3 separate regions of the Homo sapiens genome follow, and all the other regions are linked to region 2. The links are contacts of gene promoters, found by promoter capture Hi-C in human tissues and cell types (Jung and others, 2019). All regions are on one chromosome and are shown on one strand. The core of a region is centred on a gene start or on the middle of the fragment in contact, and the rest is flanking DNA. Distances in the headings are between cores, read along the strand shown. Region 1 has its middle 100 kb from the start of ADRA2C. Region 2 holds the start of ADRA2C (adrenoceptor alpha 2C). Region 3 holds the start of LINC02171 (long intergenic non-protein coding RNA 2171).

What was found. The method cuts DNA at HindIII sites, captures the fragments that hold promoters and counts their contacts. A contact is called where the count stands out against the background at its distance.
Region 1: a contact is called between a fragment that was not itself captured here and the fragment with the promoter of ADRA2C in region 2, in 3 of the 25 tissues and cell types used here (heart left ventricle, small bowel and spleen).
Region 3: a contact is called between a fragment that was not itself captured here and the fragment with the promoter of ADRA2C in region 2, in 2 of the 25 tissues and cell types used here (aorta and lymphoblastoid cells).

Annotation. Positions count from the first base shown.
Region 1 is chr4:3,865,930-3,869,765 of GRCh38, reverse strand. No RefSeq gene overlaps it. Among named protein-coding and RNA genes, the nearest start is that of ADRA2C, 100 kb to the right of the region's middle. RefSeq lists an enhancer at 1,005-1,518. The HindIII fragment of the contact is 4,095 bases long and covers 473-3,836 here.
Region 2 is chr4:3,763,524-3,767,634 of GRCh38, reverse strand. It overlaps ADRA2C (adrenoceptor alpha 2C), which reads right to left and starts at 1,250. Exons shown (of 1, transcript NM_000683.4): 1 at 1-1,250. The coding sequence starts at 1,028. The HindIII fragment of the contact is 18,027 bases long and covers 1-4,111 here.
Region 3 is chr4:3,674,153-3,678,151 of GRCh38, reverse strand. It overlaps LINC02171 (long intergenic non-protein coding RNA 2171), which reads left to right and starts at 297. Exons shown (of 3, transcript NR_034136.1): 1 at 297-981; 2 at 1,471-1,549. RefSeq lists a silencer at 2,556-2,850. The HindIII fragment of the contact is 8,065 bases long and covers 1-3,999 here.

The DNA.
Region 1 (3,836 bases), core at 1,271-3,770, 100 kb before region 2:
GTGGGGTGGGGACCATGGCTTCAGCTGTGCAGGTGCCGGTTGGCTCTCACCTGGGCTGAGTGGGGACCAAGGGGGATTGCTGTGGGTGGAATTGTGTCCCCCCAAAATACATGTTCAAGTCCTAACCAGCTGCAGCTGTGAATGTGACCGTATTTGGAAATAGGGTCTTTGCTGATGTCAGTAAGTTACGATGAAGTCATCCTGGATTTAAGGTGGCTTCATCCAATGGCTGATGTCCTTGTTAGAAGACACAGGCACCTGGGGAGAATGTGACAACTGAGGCAGGGATGGGAGCAATGTAGCCACAAGCCCAGGAACACCTGGGGCCCCAAGAGGGAGCCTCGCCAAGGCCTCCTGAGGGAGCACGGCCCACCGGCACCTTGGTCTGGCATTTCTGGCCTCCGGGATGGTGAGAGGATAAACTCTGTATCTGAGGTCACCGGCTTTATTGCGCTTTGTCGGCAGCTGTAGGAAATTAAAGGCAAGATGTCAGGTGGACCCACTAGGACCCAGCCACCACAGGGAGGCCATCTGAGAAGCTGCAGGTCTCTCCTGCTTAGTGGCTGCCTCTCCTCCCTCCCCACTGCCCTTGACACTGCTCTCTTCGACTCCCAAGGACACATTAACCCTCAGATCCCTATCTCCAGTCAGCTCTGGGGAGACACAAACCCAGACACGTCATTTGCTTGCACTGCGGGGCACTCAGAGATGGATGCCCATGTTTGGTCTGCTGCAGTGGGTCATCTGGGGAGTGGGGGTACGTGGTCATGGGGTCTGCATTCCTTGTTTCCAGAGAACCTCTATGATGTGGCATTCCCAAGTCACAGGCCCAGGCCAGGTCCTGCAGCAGGGGTGAAGTGCATGGGACCCTTGGGCCCTGCCTCTAGGGGGCTGCTGTCCCTCTGCTTGCCCCCGGTGTGAGCGCCTGCTTATGGTGAGAATGTGAACCCTTCGAGGTCCTCGGGAAGCGAATCTGGGGACCCCAAGAAGGAGGAGGTGGGCCGGGGCATTCCAGGTTCACATCTGGGGCTGGAGACTTTGGCCTGGCATGCACAGGTCTCAGCTGCCCAGGCCTGGGAAGAGCTGGCATGATGACACCCGCTGGCATGGCCTCGGTGCGCGAGCCTGGCACACAGTGGATGCTTGAAGACTGTCTGCGAATGCTCCAATGACCTTATCAGGAGGCACATCTGGTGGTTAGGCCGCTGTCCTTGGTACTGCTAGGGCTGAGTCCCTGAGGGTAGCAGCTATCTCTAGGACTGAGACTGACCCGTATTCCTTGGTGATATCCAGGAGCAGTGCTGGCAGCTGCATGGTTGGGCCTCCAAACCTCAGGTTGCAATTTGATCCCAGAGTGTTGGAGGTGGGGCCTAATGGAAGGTGTTTTCCTCATGGAGTGGATCCCTGTGAGTAGATTCATGCCCTGGGGCGGGGGTTGGGGAGTGAATTCTACTGTCTGAGTTTCCGACAAAGCAGCTACTGAAAATAGCCCGCACCCACCTCCTTCTCTGACTTCCTCTCCCGCCCTGTGAGCTCCACACACGCAGCCCCTCCCCCTCCACCGTGAGTGGAAGCTTCCTGAGGCCTCCCCAGAAGCCAAGCAGATGCCAGGGCCGTGCTTCCCAGGCAGCGTGCAGAACCGTGAGCAAGTAAGCTTCTGTTCTTTATAAATCACCCAGCCTCGGGTATCCTTTGTAGCGACACAAGTGGACTGAGATAGGCAGCTGTCGTTCAGCAGCATTTACTTTGTGAAGGCACTGGAAGCCTTTCCACTTTAGCACAGAAGACTTCCCAGGGGCCACAGCAGGTGCACACTTGTGCAGCCGACAGCGGAAAGGCAGAGATGAGTTGGCCAGTCACTGGGTGTCTTCCCCATGATGCTGGGGGCCCCTGGAAGGCAGGGCCAGCGCCTTGTCATCTCTGTACCCAGTGCCTTTTCTAGAGGAAAGGGACAATATTAGAGATTCGATGTTTTCCAAGGCAGAAAGTTCCCGAACGTATTGCAGGAGGCTTGGACTCTGCTCCTTAACAGCCAGTGTGTCTGCAGCAGCAGCTGCCCACAGTGGGGGACATGTCCCAGCCAAGGGCTGCAGAGTCCTCACAGCAGTGCCTCCTCGCCTCCAAGGCCTGGCTGGCAGGTCAGCCCGAAGAGGCTTCCAGACTTCCCCGGGCAGGATGGGCGGCACCGCCTGTGTCCCTGCCCCTCTCACCTGCTACCTTGCATCCTGGTGCTATGGCCATCACCACAGACAGGCTTACTCCCCGAGGACAAGGGCCACAGCACAGCCCTCTCCCTCACTGATTCATCCACACGTTTGTGGAGGCTGGCTCTGAAGGCCCTGGACTGCTCACCTCCACAGGGACCAAGTCTCCCTCCCACCCTGAGACCAGCCCAGGAGGCCCTGAGGCCTTCAGCCAGTATACTGGGTGGATAATGTCCCCCTCATTTCATGTCTCTCCTGGAACCCCAGAATTTGCCCTTCTCCGGAAACAGGGAACTGCAGGTGTAATTGGTTCAGTTAAATGAGGCCCTGTTTGAGTAGGGTGGGCCCTGAACCCACATGACTGGTGTCCTTAGAAGGGGGGAAGAGGCATGGACAGGCAGGGAGTGTGCGGGGCCAGTGGGGGCAGAGACCAGAGTCCTGCTGTAGCCTGCAGAGGCTGGAAGAGGCAGGAAGGAGCCTCCCTGGGGACTGCAGAGCCACCACAGTCCTGCTGGCACCTGGATCTCGGGCTTCTGGCCTCCACAACTTGGGGAGAAGCAGTGTCTGTTGTTTGAAGCTTCAGTTTGTGGGACTTGGTTTTGGCGGCCCCAGGACACGAATCTGGCCGGCATCCGTTGGAATGAGTCTATCTGAGCAGACAGAGCGGCCCCAGCCTTGCTGGCCTCCCGTTCCCGCAGCCCATTCTGTGTTCTGCCTCCCCACTCTCCTGCCGTTTTTCTTCCCATCCCTGCTGTCCCTCACATGGGGGCCACCACGCTGGACCACTGCCTTACCCTCCTGTGTCCACGTCCGTGGTGATGGAGGTGGCTTAGCAGTGAGTCCCCATCTCAGGGAATTCAAGCCAGGCTGGAAGGGGGATGACTGAAGGTCCTTTGCAGCCTGCCAGGAAGGCTCTGAGAAGTCAGGCCCAGCCCTGGGCTCCCCATGGAGCTGCCCACTCCCCTCGGGGCTACCCTCCTCCTCACCGGGGAAGATGAGGCCTTGATCCCAGAGCTCCGGGGGCCCATCTGGACTCCACAGTGGGCATAATTATCACCTGAGTTGTAATATTCTAGCCAGGATTCAGCCTTCCCCTTGCCTGTCCAGCTCACCAGCCCCGCCTTCAACCCCTACTGGGCCTGCGTCACCCCCACCTCTGGGTCAGCCCAAGATGCTCCTGGCCCTCCTGACAAAATCTCCATCTCTCAGCCTGGCATAGCTCTTGCCTGCCTGGGTGGCTGTGACTTCCATTTGGGCTGCAGGCATCACGCTGCTTTCTCCACCTGAGGCACACCTGCCACCCTTGTCCACCCAGATCACACCTCCCACCCTCGTCCACCCAGCTCACCCCTCCCACCTGCGACCACCCGGATCACACCTGCCACCCGTGTCCACCCGGACCACACCTCCCACCTTCGTCCACCCGGGTCACCCGTCCCACCCGTGACCACCCAGATTACACCCCTCCCACCAGCGTCCACCCAGATTGCCCCTCCTGCCCACGTCTACCCGGGTCACCTCTCCCACCCGTGTCCATCTGTCCCACCCGTGTCCACCTGTCCCACCCGTGTCCACCTGTCCCACCCGTGTCACCTCTCCCACCTGTGTCCACCTGTCCCACCCGTGTCACCT
Region 2 (4,111 bases), core at 1-2,500:
CCACCGGGCCCCGGGGACCTGGAGGCGGTCAGCGCCCCCGACTCAGCCGCCCCCGGCCCCGCCCCCTGCCCGTCCGCACCGCCCGCGCCCCCCTCCGCGCCCGCTCGCCGCCGCCCGCCCCGCCGCAACGCGCCCCGGCGCCGCCGCCTCTCGGCCGCTGCGCTGCTCTCGTCCGGCTCCACGTCGGCGGGCGGGGGCGCGCAGTGCCCGTTCTCGCCTGCGCCTGCCGCCGCGCCCAGCCCGTTTTCGGTAGTCGGGGACGCACCGTCGGGGCCCACGGGGGCGCGCTTCTCGCTGAGCGTGCGCGTGCGCAGCTTGGCCACTCGGTAGATGCGCGCGTAGACCAGGCCCATGATGAGGCAGGGCGCGAAGAAGGAGCCGATGCAGGAGGACAGGATGTACCAGGTCTCGTCGTTGAGGCCGCACTGCGGGTAGGCGGCGCCGTCGGGCTGGCGGTAGAGCGAGACCAGCGGCGGGAAGGAGATGACGGCCGAGATGAGCCACACGGCCACGATGGTGGCCTTGACGCGGCGTGGTGTGCGCTTCAGGTTGTACTCGACGGCCTGCGTCACCGACCAGTAGCGGTCCAGGCTGATGGCACACAGATGCACGATCGACGAGGTGCAAAACAGCACATCGAGCGCCAGGTACACGCCGCACCACACCTGCCCGAAGTACCAGTAGGCCATGAGCTCGTTGGCCAACGAGAAGGGCATGACCAGCGTGGCCACCAGGATGTCGGCCGAGGCCAGCGACACCAGGAAGAGGTTCTGTGGCGCGCGCAGCGCCCGGCTGGTCAGCACGGCGATCACCACCAGCACGTTGCCCACCACGGTGAAGACGATGAGGAAGCCCACCACGGCAGCCAGCCCTGCCACCGCGCCCGCCGAGTACTGGCCGCGCGGCGGCCCCCAGGAAGCCCCCGAGGCATTGGCAACCCCGCCGCTGCCCCTCTCGCCCGCGCCGCTCGCATTGGGGCCCGCCGCTGCCGCCACCGCCAGCGCCGCCGCCAGCGCCGGGGACGCCATGGTCCTCCCGCGAGCTACGCCGTCCCTCCTGGAGCCGGGGCGCAGCCGCGGCAGCTCGGGCGCCCCCCAGCCGGGGTCGGCGCCCGCATCGCCGCCTGCTGCTCGGGCGCGCCCGCCGGGGACCGCGGCGCCCAGCAGCCGGCCCTCGGCCGTGGTGGCTCCGCGGGCGGCGCGCCGGAGAGCGTGGCTGCCGGGCTCCCCGCAGCTGCCGAGCGTGTAAGTGCAGAGCAGGAGGCGCCCGGAGCGAGCGGCGACGCGGCTGCGGGGGGAGGGGGGCAGGTCCCGGGGTCCTCGCGCGGCCCCGCCCTCGGCCCGGCTCACGGGGAGCGCCCCGGCGTCGAGCCCACGGCGACGCGGCGCCCGAGCGGGCGTGCCTGAGCGGCCCCGCGGTCCCGGAGCCCAGCCGGGGCGCAGGCGACAGGCGGCGGCGGCCCGGGCGCTCCGCCTCCCATCCGGCCGGCTAGGGCTCGGCGCGCCGGGGCGCCGGCCGCCGCTCCTCCGGGCCCCCGCGCCCGCGCGCTCCCTCCGTCTCCAACTTTACTTTCCCGGGCGGGGCGCCGGCGCCGCCGCGAGTCCTCCGGCTGCTCCCGGGCGCGGGCGCCCCCCGCGGTCCACGCTTGGCCGTGCGGCCGCCGCCTCGCTCGCCGGAGCTGCGCCGCCGCCGCCGCCGCCGCCCTGCGCTGGGCGCGAGTGCGGCCGCCTGCGATCGGCTTCCAACTTGGGTCGAGTTGCGCAGCGGGGCGGGCGCGCGGGGCGGGGCGGGCCGCGGGCCCTGGGGAGCTGGCCGGGAACCGGAGCCCGCGGCCGCCTGGTCGAACCTGCCCGCGCGGCGCCGGGGAGGAGTCCGGGGCGGCGGCGCGGGGCGCGCGCTCGGCGAGGGCGCCCCCTCCAGGGCCGCCTGCAGCCTGCGGGACGGGGCCGAGCGGCGGCCGGCCTGGGTGGTGAGTTCCAGAAGCTGCTCTTTCTAAGACTGGAGCCTCCTTCGCCTCCCCCGGCGCAGGCATGGGCGCAGGCGGGGGCGCGCACACGCGCGCGCGCAGCACGGGCGGCTCGGGGTCCATGGCCTGATGGCAGAGCAACCTCTCGCAGCCTGGGGGAGGACGCGACGCTACCTGCGTGCGCACAGGTCCTGCCGAGCTCAGGGTCCGGACCAGATCCTGGATCGGCGCTCCCCGTCAGAGCCACCTCCGCACCCACCCCGGCCTCAGTTCCCTCGGCCCACTTCCCAGCGCTGCTGGAGCATGAATCATAACTAACGGCGGTGTCTGTGGAAGCCCTGGGCAAGCTCCCAAGCTCTGCACCCATGTTAGCAGTGATTGAAGTTTAATCCTTAGGCTCTCAGGCCCTGCTTTTAAAGGATGGAGAGGTGTTCAAAGTCACCACCTCTGACAAACACCCAGAACGGAGCTGCCTGGATGATGGAGCTTTTTGCAAGGGTGGGCTCAGGGGAGAGCGGCCGTTGAGGTAGCCCCCGTGCACCCTCGCCCCCGTCCGCGCACCTCCATTCTGCAGATGTGCACTGCCACGTGCACTGCCACTCTGTGGCCCATGTTGGGTGCTGGCTTCTGCCTCCAGGCAGCCTGGGGTCTGTGGGAGAGGGACTTCCAGGGACGAGGTGATCCAGGAGGAGAGCTGGAGTTCTCAGGCCTGACGTTTCTCTGCTAGGACCGAAGGGACGACCCTTCTCCCAAACGTCCAGAAACGAACCCCAGCTGGCTGGCCTCTCCCTGCATGGGCCCGCAGGAGAGAGGGAGGGAAGGTCTGTCCATCCTGTGGCTAGAACCGGCGGGGAAGGGGCGCTTCTGAGTGCCCGGGAGGTCATCATGAAGAGCGGCTGGAGTGACTGCCCTACCCCCGGGATGCCTATCCATGCCCGTGGCCTGGGGCAGCTTCTCTCTGAGCTCCTGAAGGGCGCCAGCTTTAGCCTCAGAGCCTGTCGTGTTCTCTGCTGCTCAGCCCTACTGGGGAGCATGTCTGTCTCCGCAGAGACACTGCCAGGAGCTACGGCTTCGTTCTTCACCATGTTTGTCACCAGCAGGGCCTGCATTGGGGGTGTGGAGGCCGAGCCAGGGCCCGGCAGAAAGCAAATATTTCAGATGATGGGCCTGCCAAGCAGGGGCGCACGTTGGAGCCAAAGCCTTCTGTGCCAGTCCTGTGCTAGTCTAGGGCACATATGCCCTTCGGGGAGGCAACAGGCCATGGCTGTCCTGTGGGAGGTGTGTGACCTGGGGATGGTGGAGGGTCACCATCCTTACTAAAGGCCCTCCTGGTTCTGGTTGCCTAAAAGGTGCCACCTGTCCAGGGCACCTGGAGGTGCATTTTTCAGGGAAGCCCACACACACCTGCTTCCTTCATGGTCGGCCCGCTGGAGCCCTTGTCTCTATTGAGCCCTCTGCGATGGCAGAGAGTGAGGGGGGCCTGGCCTCAGTTGAGGTGCTCACCATCTGTGGGTGGATGGGGCCACCCACTGAGGTGAATGCGCTGACAACCATCAGTGCCCTGGGGCTCCTCCCCCAGCCTGGGAGCGGGGTTGTCAAGGAAGCCTTCCTGGAGGAGGTGACCAAACTGTGCTTAGAGAGTGAGGAGGTGTTATGAGGAAGGGGGAGGCCTCTGTAGGCTGTCCTTCTTCCAGTGGGAGTGGGCTTTGTACTGGGGGCGTGGGGAGACAGGAGGACTAGGAAAGAGCAGTGGCAGGGGCCAGATGCAGGCTTTGGAGAAGGTCTCTCTCCCTCGGCATCAGCGTGCCTCCCACCCCCATCCTGAAGGGCTCTCTTTTTGAGAAGTGCTTTGGGGGATGCGCAGGGGCATGGGGATCTATCTAGGATCCTGGCTCCTATGTTCCCAAGAGATGGCAGCCCAGGCACGGGAATTTGGAGGGAAAAGGACACGGAGCACCTGGGGCCCTGAGCCAGATGAGCCTCCCACTGCCCAGGAGGGCTGAAGGCAGGGGCCACTCACAGGCCAGGCTGAGGGCATCTGGAGTGCCTGGCCAGTGAGCGGCCCAGGCCCTTGGGGATGGCAGCCAACAGGCTGACATGCTGCTGGCAACACCTCCTGGCATGACCAGGGAGGGGTCAGAAGGG
Region 3 (3,999 bases), core at 851-3,350, 90 kb after region 2:
TCTCCTCACTCCTCACCTCCTCACTCCTCACCTCCTCACTCCTCACCTCCTCACCTCCTCACCTCCTCACCTTCCTCACCCTCCTCTCCTCCTCACCCTCAGCTGCTATTTTCTGCAGGGCCTGGGCTTCACTCTGCTGCTCCTAGCTTGCCTTGTTCTTAGTCAACAGTGAACCACAGGCCAGCTGCAGCTTCCTCATATTGTGATGTAACTCAGGCAAGGGCTGGACACAGAGCTTTTACCACGCCTTCTGTCACTGAGAGCAAAACAGAGCTGTGGGGGTCTCGGCTTCCCCCACTGCACAGCAGCTCCCGAGCTGCAGGGAGAGCGGGAGTGCACGGGCACCAAACTGCGCCTCTTGGGGGTGCTGCAGCGGATTTTCTAACAGATATTTTCCTCTCCTTTATTCTAGGATCTGGAAGAACTGTGCCTCACCTCCGTCTCTCTGCCTCTGACTGCTCCCTCTACTCCCCAGGCCTTGCTGTCAGCACCTGCAACAGAGCTGTCCCTGCTGTGGTCTGGGGAAAGTTCCAGCCAGGCCCTCTGTGGCGCATCTATCCCTGGGGTGGGGCATCCAGGGTATTGAATCTACAAAATGCATCCATTTCACCTCCAAGTCAGCTCTGTGCACACCAAGCCGTGTGCAGGATAGGCTACCCTAGAGAGCCTGGGTACCCACGCAGCCTTCCACGAAGCCCCACCTACATGGCTGCTGCAGGTTCTCACCATCCTGTGCTCACCGGGAAGGCTGGCAGGTCCACACCGGAAACCATGGGCTGGGGAGAAGCAGGGCCTTGGTGCTAGAGAGACCTGCCCAAGCATTCTTCTGCAAGCCCCGAGACAGAGGAGTGAGCAAGCCTCAGGGGCGTGACAGGTGCTCAGGAGAGAGCAGGACACATGCAGAACCTGGAGAGAGCCAGAGAGGGACCGGCCACAGAGAAGCCCATCGCCTGCCAGCACTGACGTGGACGTTGGGAAAAGGTCAACCCCCAGCCCCGGGCTCCTCCCGCTGCTCTCAGCCCGGCCTGCTGTGCACCGTTCGGCTGGGTGGGGCTGCAAATGTACCCCGCGTGCTTGTGCTCCAGCCGCATCAGCCCCGGCCCCCAGTGCTCACTGGGTCCCCACTGCAGCAATGGAGCAGCGAGGAGACCAGTCTGGAGCCATCTAGACCCACAATGAGGATAGCAGGATTCCTGGGGACAGCCCAAGGCATACCTGTCCTTCATAAATGCTGATAAACAGCGTAAAATAGAGCTGGGAAAGATTAAAACCACAGAGCCAGCGTCCAGAGCGGGGCCTGCCTGTCATTGGTGTTTATGTCGCCATAGCAGCGACCAGGCAGGTGACTTGCTCCTGGGGGCAGGCCCCTGTTGAATGACCTCCCAGGATGAAGCACAGATCCCACCCCCTTAGTCCCCAGAACTCCTCACCTTGCAGCCCACTCCTCACACCAGGTCCTCTTCCCTGCAGGTTTCTGCTGGTGGCCCAGCCCTGGCTGGGATTCCTCACTCCCACGCCTCAAGCCTGAGAATCCTTCCGGAAACACAAGGTGAGCACATGCGACATGCAGATTCCACAGGGTCTTTTCCACATTAGCCCCATGCCCAGTGCTGTTGTTCGCCTCTCTACAGGTGGGAAATGGAGACCCAGAGTGGTCAGGAGGCAGCTCCAGGGAGGCAGAGCTCTGAGCCACACTTGTGCCTGTCTGTCTCCACAACCCAGGTGGCCTTTCCAGGGGGAGGGTGCCTGAGTGTCCCTGAGGCCCAGCAGGTGGCTGTGTCAGGAGATCTGAGCAGCCCTGGCCCTGGTGTAAAGAAAGCCTGGGACTCTCTCGCCAGAACCTAAGGGGTAGGTCGTTGGCAGAGGCAGGGGCAGGCACAGCGTAGAGAGGCGGCCCAGAGGCACCTGACACTTAGGAGCGTGGATGCTGACTCTGCTGGGGGCTTTGTCCCTGAGTGAAAGTCACTAAGCCATTGTCGTGTTCTAAAGCGTACATCTCAGAATCTCAGGGTCTGCAGAAGACTTTGGGGACCTCGGTCCCCACCCTCCCATGCTTCCTCCCCAGCTGGAGCCCCACCTCCCCACCTCCCCACCTCCCCACCTCCCCACCTCCCCATTGTCCTCGGAGTCCCCAGCTGGCCTCTCTCAGCCCCCTGGGAAGTTCACAACATTTGCAGCCCCATATCCCAGAACAAGCAGCTGGGCCTGTCCCTGGGGCGGTGGGACCTATGCTGGCTCCACAGCTGCGGGACAGGTTCCGGGTTCCCGGGTGTCCGCCCTTGTCTGAAGAATGTACACCCATCGTGGTGAAACCATAAAATCCTCGCCATACGACAATGCTGATGGCAGCCGTGGGCCACCGAGCCATTTCTCGATTCCCCGTGCCCACACTTGGCCCAGAGTATCACACCTAATCCTTCCCGCAGTGTGTGCTGTTAGTGTGAGCCCCATGTCATGGATACGAGGCACAGAGGCAGAGTGCTGGTAGCCTGTGCCCTGGTCGCAGCCCGGGGTTCCCTGGTCATCCTGATGCCAAAGCTCACCACTTCCCTGTGCTGTCCCCTCTCAGAAAGCCGCCTGCAATGCGCCTGTGGTGGGGGGTGGGGTGGCGCATGTGTGCCTAGGAAACGTGCCTGTGCCTCTGTGGATGACGTCGGGACTCGACGCCTCCTGCAGGAGGCAGCCTGGGGCTTCTGGCTCATCTCTATTCTGGCTGGCAGGAGCCAGCCCTTGTCAAGGCTGTCTCGGCCGCTAGAGCCGGGCTTCAGGTGTGAGCCTGTGCCTAGGACATGCGCAAGTCCACAGCACAGCCAGTGCATGCCGGGCCTCAGAGCCTCCTGTGTGATGGGAGCCCTTACCTGCTCTGAGAGTGGCGCAGCTCTCAGGAGGGGTCACCTCCGCCTTAGGCTCAGCTCAGCCAGACAGGCTAGCCTCTTACACTGCACACAGTAGGTGCTCAATAGGGAGTTTTTGGTTAATAAATTACTGAAGGAAGGAGGAAGAGAAAGGAAGACAGGGAGGAAGGAAGGGAGGGAGGGAAAGAAGGAGGGAGAAAAGGAGGGAGGGAGGGAGGGAGAAAGAAGGGAGGGAGGAAGGGAGGGAGGGAGAGAGGGAAGGAGAAAGGGAGGAGGGGAGGGAGAGAGGGAGGGAGGAAGGAAGAGAGGGAGGGAGGGAGGAGGAAAGAAGGGAGGGAAGAAGGGAGGGAGGGAGGGATGATGGGAAGGAGGGAGGGAGAAAGGAAGGGACAGAGGCAGGGAGGGAGGGAGGGAGGAAGGGAGGAAATGCTCTTTGTCCCCGCAGCCTGCTCTGAGCAAGGCCCTGGAAGACACAGGTGTCTGCTCTGTGGCTCTGGGCATCCTGGGTCCACGGAGGTCCACAACGGCTCAGCAGGGTGTCCTGGAACCACAAGAACAGGATGAGGGTTGTGACCAGGGCAGAGGCCCCTTGGACAGTGACCCTGAGGCAGCTCTCCAGGGACACAGGGTCAGGACGGGGGTCGGGATGAAGGAGGCAGTGCAGACAGGAAAGCTGGCCTGGACCCAGCCCCCTGCACATCAGTGCAGCTGCAACCCCCGGCCTCCACCTCCCCACAGCCCTCCTGTGCTCCTGGCTCCAAGATCACGGCCTACCCCACGTCCATGTGACAGGGCCCTAGTACTGGGGAAAAGAGCAGCAGCAGCATTACATGTGCAATTGGGAAAATTATGAAAATTATTGATATTTATAAAAAGACCATTTTTTCCAATCCTATGTCTACAAAGAGCCACGGGTCACTTTTTCCTGTGCCTGGAGTCTCCTCTGCAATGGAAGGTGGCAAGGATCCTTGGAGGGCCGCCGACTCCACATTCTAGGGAGGAGATAGCCGGAACCACCTAGAACATCCTGTTTTGCCAGAAAGCAAGGATGCTTTCCAGACACCAGGGGTTCTTCCGGAAGGACAAAGCATCCTGCTTGAAGGCTCTCCCTCCTGCCAAGTTATAATAATCTGAGCACAAAAAC